Regions from separate parts of the Homo sapiens genome. Here region 2 is linked to region 1. The links are contacts of gene promoters, found by promoter capture Hi-C in blood cells and fetal thymus (Javierre and others, 2016). All regions are on one chromosome and are shown on one strand. Each heading gives the region's core, a stretch centred on a gene start or on the middle of the fragment in contact. The rest is flanking DNA. Distances are from core to core; before and after follow the strand shown.

Region 1 (5,231 bases), core at 1,413-3,912:
TTCCCTTTGATAAAGACACCTATCACCCAAGGAATGTACTTTACAGAAGTAATAACTTTCAGTTTCATGTGGAGTTTAAGCAAATACATTCAGGTTTCTATGGAAATAATGTTAAACCTATGTACTCAAATAAAGCTAAAAGTGTTGTGTTTTGTTTTTTTCTGTTTGTTTGTTTCTGAGACAGGGTCTCACTCTGTCACCCAGGCTGGACTGCAATGGCGCAATCTCGGCTCACAGCAGCCTTGACCTCCTGGGCTCAGGTGATCTTTGCACCTCAGCCTCCTGAGTAGCGGGGACTGCAGGCATAGGCCACCAAGCCTGGCTAATTTTTGGTAGATATAGGGTTTTGCCATGTTTCCCAGAGCCTGGCCTAGAACTTCTGGACTCAAGCAATCCACCTGCTTTGGCCTCCCAAAGTATTGGGATTACAGGAGTGAGCCACCGTGTCTGGCCTTAAAAGATTGTTAAATGGAGACCAGGTGGAATTACTATGGCAAAGGGCATGTATTGCCAGCAAAATCTTCCCATGAAGGCTTATCTTACCCTAAATACAAATCAGCTATGAAGAGGAATAATTCTGTATTATGCAAGCAAAATGGTTTAGCAATCATCCTTGTGACATTGTCCAAGATCTATATTACAGAATTACAGATGCTTAGATTTCTTTAGTCTAAGACTGTAATGCACTAAAACTTATGCAACACTTCTATATTTGATTAGATAAGTTTTGCTTTGCACCAGGGGAAATAAATAAATACTTTTTCTAATGAGCTCTGTATACAATGACTATAAAAAAAAAAAAAAGGAGAGCCCTAGAAGATAAATTTTATAACTTTTCTTTTACTTTGAGCAGTTTTTCCTTATAAATGTGTATGATTAATATTTTGGTCATATTATATTATAGGTATGGCTCATAGAGAAGCAATTTAGAAGCAGATTAGGGTTTGAAGTTGGAAGCTTAAACAAATCCATTCTTAATCCTGACAATAAAGTTTACTGTCAAAATTGTTGGTTACAGATACTTAAATTGCTATTTATTTTTTTAAAGAAAATGTTCCAAAACATAAAACAGTAACTAGTTTTGAGACCATTGTCCTCTATAAGGGAAAAGAAAATATTTCAGACACATTTAACAGATGCCAATTTCAGTTTCTCAATTATGTCATCAAGGTATTCTTCAAACCAAATATAAAAATATATATATAATTTCTAATCACTCACTTTTTATACATTTATAAACAGGCAGATACAGATACAGATACAGACACAGGCAGTTATTTGGGTTAAAGAAGCTGGCATTTTCATGGGGTTTAGAAAGGACCGTGTAGTCCATGACATTTACTACCAGGTATCAGAGGAAAAGCATAAGCAGTTCCTTTTCTTGAACATTTGCCTTCTAATTGAATAGGCATTGGAATACACAAAGTAGAGGGTTTTTTTAAAGGATTTGTTCTTTCTTTTATCTACTACAAAATATGAGTATTTCTCAATGATGACAATAATAATTACCATTTATCGAATGTTTATTGTATTCCTGTCTTTGTGCCAACCACCTGACCTCCGTTATCTGAAAAATCTTTCCAACAACCCTATGACATAGATATTGTTATTCTTCATTTACAGGTGAGTAAATGGAGGTTTACATTTGTATGGAACATGTTCTGCTACTTGAGATAATGGGAATAGGAGCCTAGGAGGGCTAAAAGCAAGGAGCCAGCAAGTCTAGACACATTCCAGAGGACATTATGTCAGTCATGCAAGCCCTGCCTCAGCTTTCTTCCCAACCCTCAGCCTTTTTTCCCAACAGTATATAAATAATGTGGTGTTCCTTTCAATACAGGTGTCTCTAATGCTAGTTTGTTCCATTCTTGGTGAAGTTAATTTGAATCACATTTGGTTAGCATGTTTATCAGTTTTTTTCTACTGAGTTTCCTTTTGTGAAGTAAGAACAAATATGTTTATGAATGTAGAGTTAGCTGTGCTAAAATTAAATGAAAAGTCAAGCAAACTACCCAGATAGTTTAAGCCAATCACCCAGGATTTCATGAACCCTTTGAGCCATTTATGTTTCCCTTGAGGGATATTTCACATCTTTTACCTGAGAGTTCTACAGGGCATGCTTTTATTAGTTGAAATGTCACTGAGGGCGAGAGTAATTGTTCAACGGATGTACTTGAACTTGGACATTTAAGAATTAACAGAACGGGCTGGGCGCAGTGGCTCACGCCTGTAATCCCAGCACTTTGGGAGGCCGAGGCGGGAGGATCACGAGGTCAGGAGACCGAGACCTTTCTGGCTAACACGGTGAAATCCTGTCTCTACTAAATCCTGTGTCGGATTAATTCGTTCTACTTGCTATTACCAATAAATAGCATGGGCTCCCAGAGCTATGCCTGGCTAACTCTATCACCTTCAAGGGTTTGCTCAAACTATTCAGCCTACTTTAAGTAAATCAATTTCCAAGGTTACAAAATAAACTTCACGTACATTTTTATGGTTAGGTATTTGCGCGTATTTGGGGGCTCCATAGCTTTCATCCGTTACTCAAAGCGCTTCAGGACGCTAAAAAGGCTCAGAGCTGCTTCGATAAACAAGAAAGAATGCTGCAAGCAAAGGCAGCAGTTTCGCTGTAAAATCCTATTGCTGACAGCCAAGACGGGCGTATTCCCTCGCGACCAGCCTGTGGCGTGGTTGGGGCTCCGGAAGGGCGCGCGCGAGCGCTTTTTTGGGAGGACACCACAGGTGGACGCCTCAGCTGATCGTCCTCCCTCCCGGGGACCCTGCCCCGAGTCGCCGAGTAGCCGCAGAGTCGCCTCCGTCGCCCCGCCGCCCCTGTGTTTCGGACATGGCCGCACGCCTTCTCCGAGGGTCCCTACGCGTCCTGGGCGGCCACCGTGCGCCGCGCCAGCTGCCCGCCGCGCGGTGAGTGCCAGCCGGGACTTCCGCGGCTGCAGGCCGGGAGGCTGTGGGGTGGGGCAGCGAGTCACTCCTGTCGCTGGCTTGAAGCAGGGCGGTGCGCGCGCGGCTGGGAGTGCTCCCCAACTCCGGCGCCGGGCTAGAGCTGGCCTCCTTTCCTGGATCCCGCGGACTGGGTGCAACCAGCATCTGGGCGGAGGAAAAAGGGGTGTCAGCCGTGCCGCCCCGAGAACAGACCGCCGAGCCCACGTCGGGGAAAGCCGAAAGATTTCTCCAGAAGTTCATTCCGGAGCCCCAATCCAACCCGTCTAGTTCAGCGGCCTGCAGTGGGACCCGGGAGCCTGCGTTTTGGGAGGAGGTGGTCACCCCCTGGGCCCGGCTGCAGGAGCGCGGGCTGCGATCTGTGTCCCAGTTCGAGCTGTGAACCCGGCGTTCCCCACGGCTTAGACTCGCCGCGCGGTAGTGAACTTGGGACCCGGACTCAGTGCCCGGGCTGCGGCGCGGACCAGAATTGTCCAGGACAAACTGGGCTAGAAATGACCTGGCGAGGGTTCCATCAAACAAGGAAATTAGCTTTAGATATATCAACAAATCTAACTAAATACAGAGGATTAATGAAGACAGAGTCTAAGTAGTTCAGTGACTACTAAGGTGGTGTTTATAATATGATCAAAAGTTTCAGATACTGTCTGATGCATAAAATCTATTCACTGGGTAAACAAATTGGAAGCATGGAGAATTCATTATTTAATAAGGGTGAAGGAACTGGCAAATTTGCGAATGACAGCATTGGTGTAAGCTACTCTAATTTTATTTGAGAGCTATGAAACAAAATGCCTACTTTTCCTGGGGAGATTTGGGAAGACGTCACTGAGAAGGTGACTTTTCTTTAGGATACATACTTAACTCTTCCTTGGAACATTATAAGACAGTGATCCTCAAACTTTTTTTTTTTTTTTTTTTTTTTTGAGACAGAGTCTCACTCTGTCGCCCAGGCTGGAGTGCAGTGGCGCGATCTTGGCTCACTGCTGCAACCTCCGCCTCCCGTGTTCAAGCAATTCTCCTGCCTCAGCTTTCCTGAGTAGCTGGGACTACAGGCACGCACCACCACACCCGGCTGATCTTTTTAGTAGAGACGGGGGTTTCACCATATTGACCAGGCTGGGCTCAAACTCCTGACCTCGTGATCTGCCCGCCTCGGTCTCCCAAAGTGCTGCCTCAAAACTTTTTGATAACAGGGCTCCCTTATGCTCTTAAACAGGACCTCAAAGGACTTTTGTTTATGTAGGTTATATCTATCCGTCTGTCGTTATCGAAAGGTATCTACATAACTGAGAAACTTTACAGATATTTAGTTTATTTAAAAGTTACAATAAGAAGCTCATTACATGTTAACATAAATAACAGTTTTTATGAAAAATAACTTTTCCTAAACAGAAAAAAAGTGAAAAGAGTGACATTGTTTTACATTTTTACAACTCCCTTAATGTCTGGCATAATAGAAGATAACCAGATAACTATATCTGCTTCTGTTTTATCCATTGGCGTAAGTTAGTTTGATTGAAGCATGGCAAGAAAATCTACCCTCAAATAGAGAACACTGGAAAAAGGGAGACCTGAGAGACCCTCTGAATGGGCTGGGGGGCTACAGTTTTGTTGTAACAGCTTTTTTACCTTTAATGTGCAAAGGAATCACCTGGGAATCTTGTTAAAATACAGCTTCTGATTCAGTGGGTCTGGGATGGGGCCTGAGATTGTGTATTTATAACCAGCTTCTAGGTGTGTGGAAGGTGCTGGTGGAGATTGTCTCCCTTTTAAAATGTAGGAGACTTTAAAAAAACAATAATAGCCTAGCCAATAAGATTAGTTGCAGTTTATTGCCTTAGAGAAAAAAATGCCAATTTTTCCATTACAGATTTCTTCATCTTTAGACTGAGAAATACATGTTGCAATAAACTTGCTGCCAAGTGTTTTGATTTTCTTCCCTCTGCATATTCTCTCTTGACCACCTTTGACTGACCTGAAAGTCTTTATTCGTTTGGCATTTCTTTTGCTTTCCTATGTCTTTATATATTTTACTTAAAAATATTGCAGAGATTTCCTTAACACAGTACAGGCTATTCAATTTTAAGATCCAGTAAGACTCGATTTTAAATTCTGGCTCTATTGTTTACTCATTATGTTGACAAATGATTCGGTGTCTTACAGCCCCAGTTTCCTAATCTCAGCATATTTTTTTCCTGAGGGAAACTCTCAAGTATGGAAAATCTATATGGACAAATACGTGCTTTATAATTTTATCTCTACTAGCAAGA
Region 2 (5,231 bases), core at 1,210-3,709, 240 kb after region 1:
GAAAGTGTGTATAATCATGAGATGGGTTCCACTATATAGGTTATTTTTCTTTCTTTTCACCTAGACTATATAGTCTTGTTCAAACATTTTTATTTTTCACTGTGATTAAAAGTATCCTTGCAAATTCAAGTAGCATTATAATCTTTTTTTAAAAAAAAATTAGAGTTGACTGTCAATTTCTGCCTTTCAAAATGTTCTAACATGTCCAACCAAAATCTAATTCTTTGGTGTAAACATCTGGCCATAAGTTCTTGAATAGCCTCTGTATGTCTCTATTCTTCTGGAGAGAAAACATGTCCATGGATATGTGTGCGTGTTTCACGGCAGAGACAGAGAAGGAACATCTACAATGAATTTCTATATCTCTAAGAGCAACAGTCTCTAGAGAAGAGAATTCTCCCATGGAATATGATTTCATCTTATTAATTTCCAATACAAAGAATCTTTTCTGCAAAGCATAGTGTTTCTAATAGGCTATTTCTGGGGATGAATCTAAAAGAAACCAGTTAGCACATTTAAAAAAAAATCCTAGAAGTAATTTTCTATAGGTATGGCAAATTTTTATTGATTTCCACCTATTCATCAGGTTATCTTGGTCTCTTCCTTATTTAGCCCACTCCATCCAACTTACCCCTTTTGTCTAAAACAAATGTCCTTTCAAAAGGAAATTCTCATGCAAGTTTGGTAAAATGTTGTAAGAGCATGGGAGCAGCAGAGTTTATTATTTTCCCTTAGATATGCTTCCTGATATTCTCTAAGCTTTAAGGCCAGATTTTCATCAGGACTACTTTGGGTGTATTTTAGGTCCTCAGTGTTGGAGTGTATGTTAAGCGTCATTACCTGGTTAATGCCTTACTACTTCAGGATTTTAAGAGTCTGCAGCTTAAAGGAAGTTCATGCCAAAAATAAGAAAGTCTGGAAACTAAATATAAAAAGTATATATCCTATTTTGTAAACCAACCTCCTAGTAAATGCCAAAAGTTCCTCTCCTCCAAAGAGAACTTGGTGACGTGATGTAGTTCAAGAGATACAATTTGCAGGGTATGGCAAAGGTGGATGTGCTACTGGTTGGTAGAAAGCCTCTGTGCTATTAGAATTATTTCAGAAGCCAAAGTGAATGCCTCATCTTCCCATTTCTTAATGACCACAACTGGGTCTGGGTGACTCACACCCAGAACTAAAACACAATGGTCACAGAAACAACGGATCAACGGCAGTTGATCTAAGACAGTCATCAAAGTACTACCATGACTGACTAATTCAGCTGTAGACAAATCAATAGCTTTGGCTCTGAACCAGTCTCACCTACCAAAAACTTTGTGTATATTTCCATTGACACTGGAACCAGGACACACTGAATTGGTTTAGAAAACTACAAATAGGTCCTCTGAACCCTGAGCCTACCAGAGAGGGCCAAATACTTGGGAGAGTTCATAAAAACAATCTCAAACTCCTGCCTTCTCTCACCAATCCTTACTCATCAAGAGTAGAATTTGGCCTAATTAGAAAAGCCCCAGCACAAAGCTAGCTAAGTGGAAGTCTGATTCAATACTCTCTACTCTCAGTAGGCCACTGAAATTGTCTTCTAATCAAGGTTCCCATCACACATGTAATTTTAAACATTAAATACCTGCTTTCTTTGAAAGAATGAACACTCTGCTAGACTTGGTTCAGATCTCTTCCAACACCGTGAATAAAGGGAAGCCCTCTTGAGGACTGTTTTGTTTCTCAACTTCCTCCTTGCCCCCAAAGCTCCTGCTAATGGAATTAAGTCTGCATTCTGCAGCACTTCCACATTTACCACCAATAAGAGACTGATCTGTCAAGGCAAGGGCTGGCAAACACGAATGTCATGAATTATGGGTCTGGTTAAAAAAAAAATACACCCGATGATGGACTAAATTTCCCATTTTCAATTGCAAAAGAAAATGTGAAATCTGAACAAGATGCAAAGAAAACAAAAGACAACCTTTCACAGGAACAGCCTCTCAACATTTCCTCATCTTTGTGATAAAGCAATAAACACGGGTGTATTGTACTCACTAGATAGTGCAAACCTGAAAGGGAATGTTATCTCTTGAGATGGCACAAAGATACTCTAAGGATGAACAAGAAGCCTTACCCCTAATGAGGATTAGTTGAGAGGTGTGAATCAACAGCACAAGATTAGGAATGTTTGACGTGGTTTATCTGAGTGTTAAAGGTGCAGTCCCCTTTTCTGAAGCTTTAAACCAATAGCCAAGACATTACATTATTTGCATCATAAGACTTCTCTTACTTACCAAGAACTGTTTGTGTCTGATATTTCATGCAAGTTTTGGAGTCACCTTTGTGCTAGAACAGACATTCTTTGTATAAGTGTTGCTGGAACAAGCTACTATAGAAGTCTGCCCAATAGCATGCATCAAAGAGAAGGAATTATAGTATATAAATTGTATCCACATTACTATTCTTTTTATAACATCATTGTCTATTTTCTTACAATCAATGGTATTAGCTAAAAGACCTGTCTTGATTTAATAAGGGGCTTCTTGATGATGTATTAAAGGGCCTCTGAAAAACAATTCTTAATAAATATCAGTGTGGGAGGGAATAATTAGATGGGATAAATTTAACATTTGGCATACCAGACTTTTTAGACATCCGTGGGAAATGCCCCATAAAGAATTCTATAATTTTTTTAAAGTAAGCTTTTCAGGCTTACTTGATTGACATTGAGCTCTGAAGCTGAAAATGAAGGAGGGTTTGCTACACCTTTGACTTCCAGGCTCATATGTTCATGAACAACAAAGGGCAAGGAATGGAAATAGATATTAAGACGGGGCGAGAAGAGACAGAGAAGACAGAGAGACAGAGGAGACAGGGAACAGCTAGTTTCCCAGCACAGACACCAATAGACAGGTAGCATTGACACTGTACCTAGAGAGGCTGCCCTCGGCGGCCAGGCCCTGGGAGTCATCGAGGACATTAGGTTCACTGCAGGAGGGGTAGGGAGATGAAGCATTTAGGGAAAGAAAATGAAAAAAAAAAAGAAAAAAGAAAAAAGGCATGCAATTTTCTGCTTCCAAGAACCAAAAATAAATAGATTTAACCGAACAAGGAAGGAAAAGGAGACAGTCAACCATTTCACCTTGTGCTGGGTTTGTCAAGACATAGGACTCAAGGCAATGGGGGAGGAAGGGCTTTGGATGGATACAACTCTCAGAGGAGTAACCTATTTATTGGTCAAGAGTTAAAATGAACTCCGAATGGGCCCATAGGCTCTGAAACACATTGCAGAATGAATCTGTAGAAGATGAAACTACCATTTCCTTTGGTAACCATTTGGCTAGGTGGTGATTATTTTTAACCTGTCTTATGTACATGGTGTTTCATTGACCAGGACCCTGCTTCTTTCTTGTGCATTCTAACATTAGCACACAGAAACCACTTACCATGAACTGCCACAACCAAGCTCTTGGAACTGATGCCATTAAGAAAAGTAAAGAAAGAACACAACTTTCCCTGCTAATTTTGCAGTGAAAATGCAAGTAAACAAACGGAAGGAAGATATCTTAGAAAATTCACATGGAACTCGCATTTACCTCCTTACTCTCCATCCTCTAGTGACTGAATTGTAAATGCCAAAAGAAGAAACCTGTCAGGTTGGTGAGAGAATAATTAAATTGTTTATCGATTGATTGATATGTATGTAGCTGAACTGAGATTTGTGAACAGAAACTGTCATGCTTTATCTGTCCTTCCTTCAGTGCCTAGCATTGAGCTAAGCATCTGTGAGGCAATAAATACTCGTTAAATTGGAGAGAACTAAACCATTTAGAAAACTGGAGTGCCTGGCCCCAAAGAATTGAGGCTCACCTAAAAGTTCACTATAAAAACAGCCTCTGTCCCTAGGAAGAGACTCACTTTCCCTTATGTACAGAGACAGTATTATTACCTTCGCTAGTCTTCCAAAATATGAATGAAGCCCAAACTATTTAACTATATTATTTTTTCTTGATTTCTAGAAATCAAGAAAATGTACAATCAAGATATGTATAATAGGACAAATTTTCTCCCTGCAAACAACTTGACCCCTTAATGAATATGTAAAAAGGAAATTGATGGCCTGGTTATTTTAGGTAAATAACAATGAAAAACCTCTTTATGAAATTTCTACAATTCTATAATTTAAATAAAACTTTCAAATAATTGATTTTTAAAAATATTCTTCATAGAACCATGCACATTGCTAGCAATTAAAAATAACTGATAGCTACCAATATTAGCTGCTTGTGTGGCTTTATATCTTTTTTAGGACATGTTATTGTTTGGCTTTGATTTTGTTCACACTTTTTGTGTATAAGACTTTCTTTTCAAAGGAAAATTACCAAATGGTAGGTAAAACAATTTCTTACAATGATACAAACCTTTATATAGTATTAATCTTCGTAATAATTAAATGGTACTTATATAAAACATTGCCTTCTTAAAAAGTATGCAACTTGTTTATTAATGATTTATCATTTTACCCTATTCTTTGATATTCTCCAAACTTGGGCTTTATTTCACAAATTTTATTTCATCTGTGTAGTTCACGAACCATTTGCGAAAGGATTTGGGTACAGGGTAATTATTCCTACATATAAACTGGTTTTATGTGAACATCAGAATATGCCCTGAATTTTATTATTTTCCATGTCTGAATTGTACTACAATGAATCTATAGGTATTAAAAATAAGCAACACACTAAAATCACATAAGGTCAATTCCTTGAAAAACTCAATTCCTAAAGTGAAAATATCATTGGTTCCAAAACATTTATCTACTTAAGATAAATGTTTTGACTCATGTGAGATCATTTTCATTATACTTTCATTGTGTGTGTGTGTGTGTATATATATATATACATGGGAAGTTTTTTTTTACTTATATTCTTAAGAGACAGAGAACACACAAAATATTTAAAGGGGTTTTGTCATGGAATCATAGAACTATAGATGAGAAGTTATCTTAAAGATCATTTTAGCAAACCTCTTCATTTTACAGAGGGAGAACTGTGGATTACGGTTAAATGACCTGCCCAAGGTCACACTCAGTGGCATAGATCCTTTTCTGCTTGGTTAAGTGTCACTACCTACAACTGAATACTAATAATATATCAGAAGCCTAAACTTTACCAAAAACATAAAGATGGTCCAAACTCTTGCCAAGTACCCATCATTAGCTTAGCTAATGATAAATCTGAAAT

What was found. Contacts are between HindIII fragments. The CHiCAGO score rates a contact against its expected background, and 5 or more counts as called.
Region 2: a fragment that was not itself captured here is called in contact with the fragment with the promoter of ACADL in region 1 in 10 of 17 cell types (activated CD4 T cells, megakaryocytes, total CD4 T cells and 7 more); the score reaches 7.9 in activated CD4 T cells.

Annotation. Positions count from the first base shown.
Region 1 is chr2:210,222,878-210,228,108 of GRCh38, reverse strand. It overlaps ACADL (acyl-CoA dehydrogenase long chain), which reads left to right and starts at 2,662. Exons shown (of 11, transcript NM_001608.4): 1 at 2,662-2,922. The coding sequence starts at 2,846. The HindIII fragment of the contact is 4,947 bases long and covers 960-5,231 here.
Region 2 is chr2:209,982,601-209,987,831 of GRCh38, reverse strand. It overlaps UNC80 (unc-80 subunit of NALCN channel complex), which reads right to left. Exons shown (of 65, transcript NM_001371986.1): 61 at 2,920-2,976. Among named protein-coding and RNA genes, the nearest start is that of RPE, 17 kb to the left of the region's middle. The HindIII fragment of the contact is 466 bases long and covers 2,227-2,692 here.